Linked DNA regions of Homo sapiens: region 1 is linked to region 2. Evidence: promoter capture Hi-C in human tissues and cell types (Jung and others, 2019). All regions are on one chromosome and are shown on one strand. Each heading gives the region's core, a stretch centred on a gene start or on the middle of the fragment in contact. The rest is flanking DNA. Distances are from core to core; before and after follow the strand shown.

Region 1 (4,417 bases), core at 1,818-4,317, 140 kb after region 2:
AGACACTACCTTTTAGAGATAGACGTCTACTCTTGGGACTGAGATGAAGCTGCCTGTCCTTTGGGAATGGAGGTTGTGTTCGTCAGATTCTTAGTTACAAGCAACAGAGCCAGAATTCCAATTTAAGTAAAAGAGAATGTGTTAAGAGGGTTTTGGAGAGCTCACAAATAGGAACAAAAGAAGTTTCTGCAGCTGGAACCAAGACCAAAATCAAAACCTAGAACTGGTCTGGCAAGGACCCTGATGCACTGTTGCACCCCCAAAACTGCCAATTCCTTACATAGGGTGCCGCTGCTGGTATCGTTATCAGTGTTGCCCAGACGCTGGGTCTGGCTGCCAGTTCTGTTTGGGTCAGAAAGGTTTTCCTTGTTCTGCCTTTTGGTCCACTAGTTCCCTAGTCATTGTCAGTCCAGGGCCATCTCATTGGCTAAGCCTAGGTCCCTTGGCCAGGCTGAGGTGAATATTTGATGTTTTCAGCTTCTGTAGTTGGAGAAGAGCACTATCTCCCACAACTCATTAGATGGGGAATTTGCCAAAATAGGAAGTTAGTAGGGGGTTAAAAAATGACTAAGGCACACTAAAAGGGTCTTGGGAGAGAAACAGCCAAATAGTGGGTATTATGAACTGGTTTGCTTGATTATAGCTAGTAATCATTTATCATTCACCCACTGCCTCAAGTTTATTGGGCATCAACCACATGCCAAGCAGTGGGTGAGGCACTTTTCCATCCTTTATATCCTGTGGTCCCACCATAACCTTGTAAGATTGTGGAGACACGAAGGAGGTCAAACAGTAGCGTCATTTGTGAGAAAGACTTGAAGCACAAGCTGAAAAGATTGGAGGCAAAGGGGACACTGTGCGTGTCTCAGGGGGCAAGCCCAAGTTGCCCCACAAGAGATTGTCCTCTTGGGAAACTGGTACTAGGCAGATAATGAGAAACTGTTGCTTCTCTCCTCCTGCCATTCCTGCTTCCTTTATCCTTACTTCCATACTATGTGGCCGACTTGGCCTTCAGCTTCAGGGACTACAGAAATGCTCTTAAAAAAACCCCACAAAAAACAAAACAGTTTTGTTTTTAATTGACACATAATGATTGTACACATTTATGGGGTATAGTGTGATGTTTTGATACATGTATATACATTGTGTAATGATTGAATCAGGGTAGTTAGCATATCCATTACCTCAAACACTTGTCATTTCTTTGCAGTGAGATCACTCAAAATTCTCTCTTCTAGCTAGTTTGAAATATACAATGTAAATTAATATACATTGTATACATGTATATTTATATATATTATTGTATACATGTATATTAATATACATTTATATATAGTAATATACATTATTGTTAACTCTAGTCATTCTATTGCGCTATCAAATACTAGACCTTGCCATCTCATTTAATCTTATAACATTTATATTTCTCAAAATCCTCTCCTAGATATTGTGTATCTCTTTTGAGATATACAGTACATTATTATTAACTATAGTGGCCTTTCTGTGCAATAGAGCACCAGAACTTATTCCTCCTATCTAACTGTAACTGCGCACTCACTGACCAACCTCTCCCCATGCCCCTCCCCTTCCTCTCTTCAGCCTCTGGTAACCACCATTCTACTCTGTACTTCTATGAGATCAACTGTTTTACACAAATGCTGCTTTATGCAGAGCTCTTTTTTTTGCAGAGACCCTTCCCTGCTCTGTGGGGATGCCCTCCATCTGTTGCTCCTTGTCCCCTATGGTTCAGAGTTTACACAGCCGCTTTCCCTAACTGTTTCTTTTTCACATGCCCACCCACTCCCCCAGCATGGGCTGGTGAATTGTTGACTTCCCAGGGTCTGGATGCCACTCAGTACTGATGACCCAAACTTTCTGCCTCTTCCTGCAGCCACTAAGCACAGCTGGCATCCTGAGCTCCTCTTCTGCCGCTTCCAACAGGTCAAGGAATAAGGCTCGCTATCGGACCAAAGCCGTGAGCTCTGAGGTGGATGAGAGCCTCTTTGGAGATATCAAGGTAATCCTCAACAAGTCCTTTCAAGTTGATGCCACCTGCAGGCAGAGGCCCAAAAATGTAGCTCAGGGCAAAGCTTCTGCTGAGTAACCTTGCTCTCGTAGGTAACTCTCAGACTGAAGACAAAGGGGAATTCTGAGACCTGAGCTGCAGAGCTTTGGGATCTAGTGGGGCCTATGTAAACAGGGACACCTAGCTTCTTCCACCCTAGAATCTCTCATGTCTTCACAGTGTTTAAAATCTGTTATAATGTCAAAAGGGAGGCTCAGCTGCAGAGAGTGCAATAGTTGCTCAGTTGAGCTCCATGATGGAAACATTGCAGGGCTGATGGGCTAAGCTTGCAGACAATAGCAACATCTTCCCCGCTCCATCCAAGGATAATAGCATCAGAGTACAACACAAAACCATCCTCCTTTCCCAGTTGCTCAACTAAAACAATTACTTAGCTTTGGGAAACGAGCAGGTCTTTATTTGCAAGTGTTATCTAGACCAAGAGGTGGACAACTCCTTTAGTCTAGATAAAGAGAGCTAGATAGTAGAGCTTTGACTGATTTTGGTACATATGGAGTTTAGTAGGTAAGAAGGAAGAGAGGGAAGGAGAAAAAGAGAATATGACATGGAGAGAAGGGCAGTGAGAGATTAAGAGAAGGGGAAAAGAGAAAGAGAGACACTAGTAGTGACCTGAATGCCTCTGCCAGTGGGGAAGGTGGGGAGAGGAGTGTTGATGTCTGTCCCTGCTCTTCAACATCTTCATTGTGAATTGAAGAGGACTCTCCAGAGGGATTGAGATAGGCTTCTTAATCCATTTAGAAGACTCTCACTCTGCAGCAGTTTTCCTGTTGGTAAGGGAAAGGATCAACAGATGCATTTATTTTTTATTATTTTTTTAAAGATAGGGTTTCACTCCTGTCACCCAGGCTGGAGCTGGAGTGCAATGGTACAGTCTCGGCTCACTGCCACCTCCACTTCCCAGGCTCAAGTGATTCTCCTGCCTCAGCCTCCCAAGTAGCTGGGACTACAGGTGCACACCACTGCACCTGGCTAATTTTTGTATTTTTTGTAAAGACAGGGTTTCATCATGTTCCCCATGCTGGTCTTGAACTCCTAAGCTCAAGCAATCTGCCCACCTCGACCTCCCAAAGTGCTGGGATTACAGGCGTAAGTCTCCCCACCTGGCCAAAATGCAATTTCACTTACAGACATTTGTATTGTTGTTGTTGTTTTGGGTACATGTGGAGTTTTCTAGTCAAAGCAAAGAGAGATTTGGAATTGGCTGAGTTCTCCAGGAGTAGTCATGCTGGCTGGCAAAAGGGGGCTATCAGAAAAATGCTTGTCTCTTGTCCAGTTTCTTTGGCCTCATTGATGGGTAAGAGTTCAGGAAGTCTCTCAATGGGCAGTAGAGGGCAGAAGTGGCCTGTGGCACGACTGAGTTGTGCCCACGTGAAAGCAGAGATGGGCACCAGGTGGCAGCAGCACACAGGGGACTGTGGGTGCAAAGTGAGGTAGGACAAGTGGGGCCATCCCCCTGCCTCTGGTCAGGAGCACAGTGGCTGCATTAATGACACATCCTTTCCTGTGTTTAGACATTTTCTGAAACAGGTGATTTCATTTAATTGTTATCTAACTCCTTCAGGGTCGGAGAATTTTGAAAAAAAGAAAAAATCACACAGTTAGTCTGTGTTCTTGCTGAATTCTAACTCACTGACCTCCTCACCACCAACTCAATGAGCTGGCAGAGAGCTACCCTTAGATCTTAAGGGTAGGCCTCTGCAGGTCATTTAGCGATTTCTAACTCCCTGAATATGGCTTTTTGTGGGGGTTAAAGTAATTTAATCGTAAGAAAGAATTTAAAATTACCAATATCAAAGATTGTAAGAGTCTGTAACAAATTATATTGCTTCAAACCCACTGTGTGGTCCTAGAGAGATAATTATTTCTTCTTTCATAAAGGAAAATCTTTCATGGAGAGAGGAAAACCTAGAGAACAGAAATTTACTTTAATTCCTGATGATTTTAGACTAAGTATAGACACACACTAGTGACCCCCACTCCTTGTTATCCCTACCATTCTGCGAGGAATATCTGTATAAGAACAAGAGACTTGTTTTCAGAAAAGCTGGTCAGGGCTGGGCATGGTGGCTCACGCCTGTAATCCCAGCACTTTGGGAGGCCCAGGCGGGCGGATCATCTGAGGTCAGGAGATTGAGACCAGCCTGGCCAACATGGAGAAACCCCGACTCTACTAAAAATACAAAAATTAGCCAGGCATGGTGGTGGTCGCCTGTAATCCCAGCTACTCAGGAGGCTGAGGGAGGAGAATTGCTTGAACCCGGGAGGTGGCGGTTGTAGTGAGCCAAGATCGTGCCACTGCACTCCAGCCTGGGTGACAGAGCAAGACTCTGT
Region 2 (4,952 bases), core at 414-2,913:
CCACTATATATATGGCTAATATACTGCAAAAAAATGGTTAGAATTATCAATCTAAGGCATGTAATGATACCAAGGCATATAAAAGGACATAGAGCTATCACAATATGAATATGGAATATATAAGATTAACACAGTTCATCTCCAAGGGATAAATTGAAGTGTAGGATGGATGAGCAGCAGGTAGTTCTGGGAGCTGCATGTTCAGACTGCATGAAGTCACCTCCTTTTCCTTATTCTAGTCTAGAAGACTTCCCCTAGGAAGCAGGCTTATTCTATAAAATCCAATTAGTCAGTATTTACTAAGCATTTACCATGTGCCTAAGACTACAATAAATTACACATAATTGAAAAAAATTAAGGATAAGATATAATTTCTACCCCCAAGAACCCTATAATCTCTTGTGAGGGCTATGAATACAATCTAAAATAAAGTATCAAATTCTACAATGCGGACTATGTAAGTGCACTAAGTAACCACGGAAAGGGAAGAGCTAATGGGTTACAGTCCTTGGCAAGAAATTCATGGAAGTAGGGTTGGAGTGGGGTGGGGGGAGCAGGGGACCTTGACATACATAAAGGATATTTAAAAGGGAAAATAACTGGGAGTTGGGAGCAATCCAAAGATGCCACTCTAGAAATATTCTGGTAGGAGGAACCTCTAAAATCAATTCAACTTTACTGAATGGCTACTAGTACTGTGTTAGATGTTGAGGTAGAGAAAAGAACAAGATAATCTCTGATACCGAAGAATTGAAAGTGTCCTGATGGAAAACTAGGAGAGCAAAACAAACAAAAACAGTTATTACAAAGCAGTGTGACAAATGCTGTAACAAAGGAATGACCAGGGAGTTCTGGAGCACTGGGAGAACTTTTAGTAGCATGGCAGGGTCTTCTGTGTGAGTGATTTTCTGGAACTTAGATCCCGTCCGCCCCAGTCTACCTATCCTCGGACAGGGGAGGGGACTGGCATCTAAGTCATTCATTCTGCGTGATGAGGAAGTGAGTGGGAGCTGGGAGCTAACACTTGCACTGATGCCTGAAGGGTTGAGTAGGTATTTGCCAGAGTGATTGGAGAGCGGATGGCAACTTTGACAGAAGAAATAGCAAATACAGAGATACTGAGGCATAAGGGGCTGACAAGTTAAGGAATTTTGTGACGCTTTCCTGTCTTCTTTCCCATCACCTTCACCTAGGGTTGCCGGATAAAATACAAGCTGCCCACTTAAATCTGAATCTCTGATTACCAACTAGTAATTTAAAAATATAAGTATGCCTCCAATATTGCATGGAACATACACACTCAGCCCCCTTCAACTCATCCTGTCCTGTCCGGGGCCCACAAATCCCCGGTGAATACCGGCGAGCTAGTGGAGTAAAGCATGAGAAGGCTTATCTTCCTTTCACTCCTACATTTTTCACTCTCGGATCTCCAGCCCAGGACTGAAGGATGTAGCGCGCAGCCCGCAGCTCGCTGCTCGTCGGAGGGTTTTCCTCTGAGGACTGGAAATGGGGCGCGGGAAGAGGGCGGGGGGCGGCGGGCTGTCACTTACAAAGAAATCTCACTCCACTCCATAAAATCCTCAAGCCAGTGCCGGATTTCCCGGCAAGCGGACGTCTCCCCTCCCACGGACCGGAAATCCCGCCTCCGCTGGAAGAAGAAGCGGAAGCGAGACCGTCCATCCAGAGGAAGGCAAGTTTTTGGCTCGGGCGGCTGAGAAGACCGCGCGGGGCTGGAGACAGGTAGCAGTACGGGGGCGGGGCTTCATGCCGGATGTGATAGTCTGCAGTCGTTTCGGTTGGCAGCCTGGCGGGTGGGAGATGCGGCGGCCACCTGCTGCAAAGAACCGAAGGGAAGGTTAGAAGTACGAAGGCAGTTTGGAGCTGGGGCTAAGCAGCTGTCGCACGGTCAGATCATGGGCTCCACCAAGCACTGGGGCGAATGGCTCCTGAACTTGAAGGTGGCTCCAGCCGGCGTCTTTGGTGTGGCCTTTCTAGCCAGAGTCGCCCTGGTTTTCTATGGCGTCTTCCAGGACCGGACCCTGCACGTGAGGTATACGGACATCGACTACCAGGTCTTCACCGACGCCGCGCGCTTCGTCACGGAGGGGCGCTCGCCTTACCTGAGAGCCACGTACCGTTACACCCCGCTGCTGGGTTGGCTCCTCACTCCCAACATCTACCTCAGCGAGCTCTTTGGAAAGTTTCTCTTCATCAGCTGCGACCTCCTCACCGCTTTCCTCTTATACCGCCTGCTGCTGCTGAAGGGGCTGGGGCGCCGCCAGGCTTGTGGCTACTGTGTCTTTTGGCTTCTTAACCCCCTGCCTATGGCAGTATCCAGCCGCGGTAATGCGGACTCTATTGTCGCCTCCCTGGTCCTGATGGTCCTCTACTTGATAAAGAAAAGACTCGTCGCGTGTGCAGCTGTATTCTATGGTTTCGCGGTGCATATGAAGATATATCCAGTGACTTACATCCTTCCCATAACCCTCCACCTGCTTCCAGATCGCGACAATGACAAAAGCCTCCGTCAATTCCGGTACACTTTCCAGGCTTGTTTGTACGAGCTCCTGAAAAGGCTGTGTAATCGGGCTGTGCTGCTGTTTGTAGCAGTTGCTGGACTCACGTTTTTTGCCCTGAGCTTTGGTTTTTACTATGAGTACGGCTGGGAATTTTTGGAACACACCTACTTTTATCACCTGACTAGGCGGGATATCCGTCACAACTTTTCTCCGTACTTCTACATGCTGTATTTGACTGCAGAGAGCAAGTGGAGTTTTTCCCTGGGAATTGCTGCATTCCTGCCACAGCTCATCTTGCTTTCAGCTGTGTCTTTCGCCTATTACAGAGACCTCGTTTTTTGTTGTTTTCTTCATACGTCCATTTTTGTGACTTTTAACAAAGTCTGCACCTCCCAGTACTTTCTTTGGTACCTCTGCTTACTGCCTCTTGTGATGCCACTAGTCAGAATGCCTTGGAAAAGAGCTGTAGTTCTCCTAATGTTATGGTTTATAGGGCAGGCCATGTGGCTGGCTCCTGCCTATGTTCTAGAGTTTCAAGGAAAGAACACCTTTCTGTTTATTTGGTTAGCTGGTTTGTTCTTTCTTCTTATCAATTGTTCCATCCTGATTCAAATTATTTCCCATTACAAAGAAGAACCCCTGACAGAGAGAATCAAATATGACTAGTGTATGTTCCACACCCTCTGCTACTGTGTTACATTCTGATTGTCTTGTATGGACCAGAAGAGAGCTTTGGGACATTTTTTCTGAACATTCTAAGCATTCTAGTGAAAGTTCCCATGTTCCAACAGAACTTAAAAGCAATGTTTGCCTTATATATAAAAGGGACACAATAATTGAGGTCCACCTTCTAGGAAATCCTAGGACTCGTTTATTTGGGACATGGTGGGAATAAAGGTCACATATTGGAAAATGGAAAGGCTGATGAAACTATCAGATACTAAAACATTCTTAAAATAGAGGAATATAGTTAGAGACATCAGGTTTAAGCCAGTATTTGTTCCTGTTTTACAATGCTTCTGTCTTAAGCTGTGTCTTAACTTTTAACACCCATCTTTTCTTTCTAAAGCTTTCCTGACAGCTGTGAAAATCCAAAAAATATTCTTAAACTGTGTATGGTGGCCCTTGCCTGTAGTCTCAGCACTTTGGGAGGCTGAGGTGGGAGGGTCGCTTGAGTTCAGGAGTTCTAGACCCACCTGGGGCAAGATGGTGAGACCTAGTCTCAAAAAAAAAAAAAAAAATTAGCCAGGTGTTGTGGTGCACCCCTGTAGTCATAGCTGCATGGGAGGCTGAGGTGGGAGAATTGCTTGAGCCCAGAGCAAGACCCTGTCTCAAAAAAAAAAAAAAAAAAAAAAAGGAAAGGACAACTTTTTAGATAGAAAAGTATTAAATAATACTAAGATGCTTAGTAGTATTATTTTAGAGAGTTTTAAACTTCTATATTAAATGTGGGGTCTTACAAGATAATCCAAAGACTTTGGGAGGCCAAGGCGGGCAGATCACGAGGTCAGGAGATTGAGACCATCCTGGCTAACACGGTGAAACCCCTCTCTACTAAAAATACAAAAAATTAGCCGGGCGTGGTGGGTGCCTGTAGTCCCAGCTACTCCTCGGGAGGCTGAGGCAGGAGAATGGCGTGAACTCCGGAGGTGGAGCCTGTAGTGAGCCGAGATGGCACCACTGCGCTCCAGCCTGGGCGACAGAGCAAGACTCCATATCAAAAAAAAAAAAAAAAAAAGATAATCCAAAGAATTTAAATTGTAATCATGTTTCATGTATTTGTTTTATTACTTACTTTTATAGCACTTAGTCCCAGTGGTATTAGACTGCTATTTGGTTTCATACAAAAAGGATTAAATTTAAATTCATTCATGTTTAGACTTGAGTTATTACATTTTTAAAACTATCATCTTGCCTTTAATGTTTGTGGTCCTACACAAACTATTAGTACATTTCAGTATCCTCTTACCCCTTTGTTTTTAAGTTTTTGATTGCTAAAGCAAGACTTTTTTCTTCTAGAATTTAAGTCAACCAAGTGTTATCTATGTTGTAAAAATGGATAATAGTAGATTTTAGGTGATAAAACAACTTGTTAGTAAGACATTTCCTAGCTTAAAAAAAAAAATCAAAAATTCCATGATAGAAATGCAGACCTGTGAGGGAAACTCCTGAAAAGCATAAGAAGCATCCCAGAGAGCCATGGGTTTTCTAGACCAGAGAATTTAGAGGGAGATTGTGGAACTGAGGCTTAGGTGGTCAGATCGTTTCCCTTATCACTGTAATATTTCTGGGGGAAAAATGCTTTCTGAGTTGTTTAAACAAGCATCCTTACATTTTTTTTTTTAATTAAACAGCCTGTCTAGGCTTGGGATTCCCTAATACTACAGTAGCAGTATATGAATATGATTTTGTGATTGTGTTTTTTAAAAGATA

The links. Contacts are between HindIII fragments. The study calls those that stand out against the background at their distance.
Region 1: a contact is called between a fragment that was not itself captured here and the fragment with the promoter of PIGM in region 2, in 1 of the 25 tissues and cell types used here (mesendoderm cells).

The regions. Positions count from the first base shown.
Region 1 is chr1:159,890,780-159,895,196 of GRCh38, reverse strand. CFAP45 (cilia and flagella associated protein 45) reads left to right here. Exons shown (of 12, transcript NM_012337.3): 2 at 1,892-2,017. LOC124904434 (a long non-coding RNA gene) reads right to left here. Exons shown (of 3, transcript XR_007066678.1): 2 at 2,696-2,850; 3 at 1,971-2,052. Among named protein-coding and RNA genes, the nearest start is that of MIR4259, 7.1 kb to the left of the region's middle. The HindIII fragment of the contact is 4,491 bases long and covers 822-4,417 here.
Region 2 is chr1:160,028,701-160,033,652 of GRCh38, reverse strand. It overlaps PIGM (phosphatidylinositol glycan anchor biosynthesis class M), which reads left to right and starts at 1,663. Exons shown (of 1, transcript NM_145167.3): 1 at 1,663-4,952. The coding sequence starts at 1,914. The coding sequence ends at 3,185. The HindIII fragment of the contact is 11,020 bases long and covers 1-4,952 here.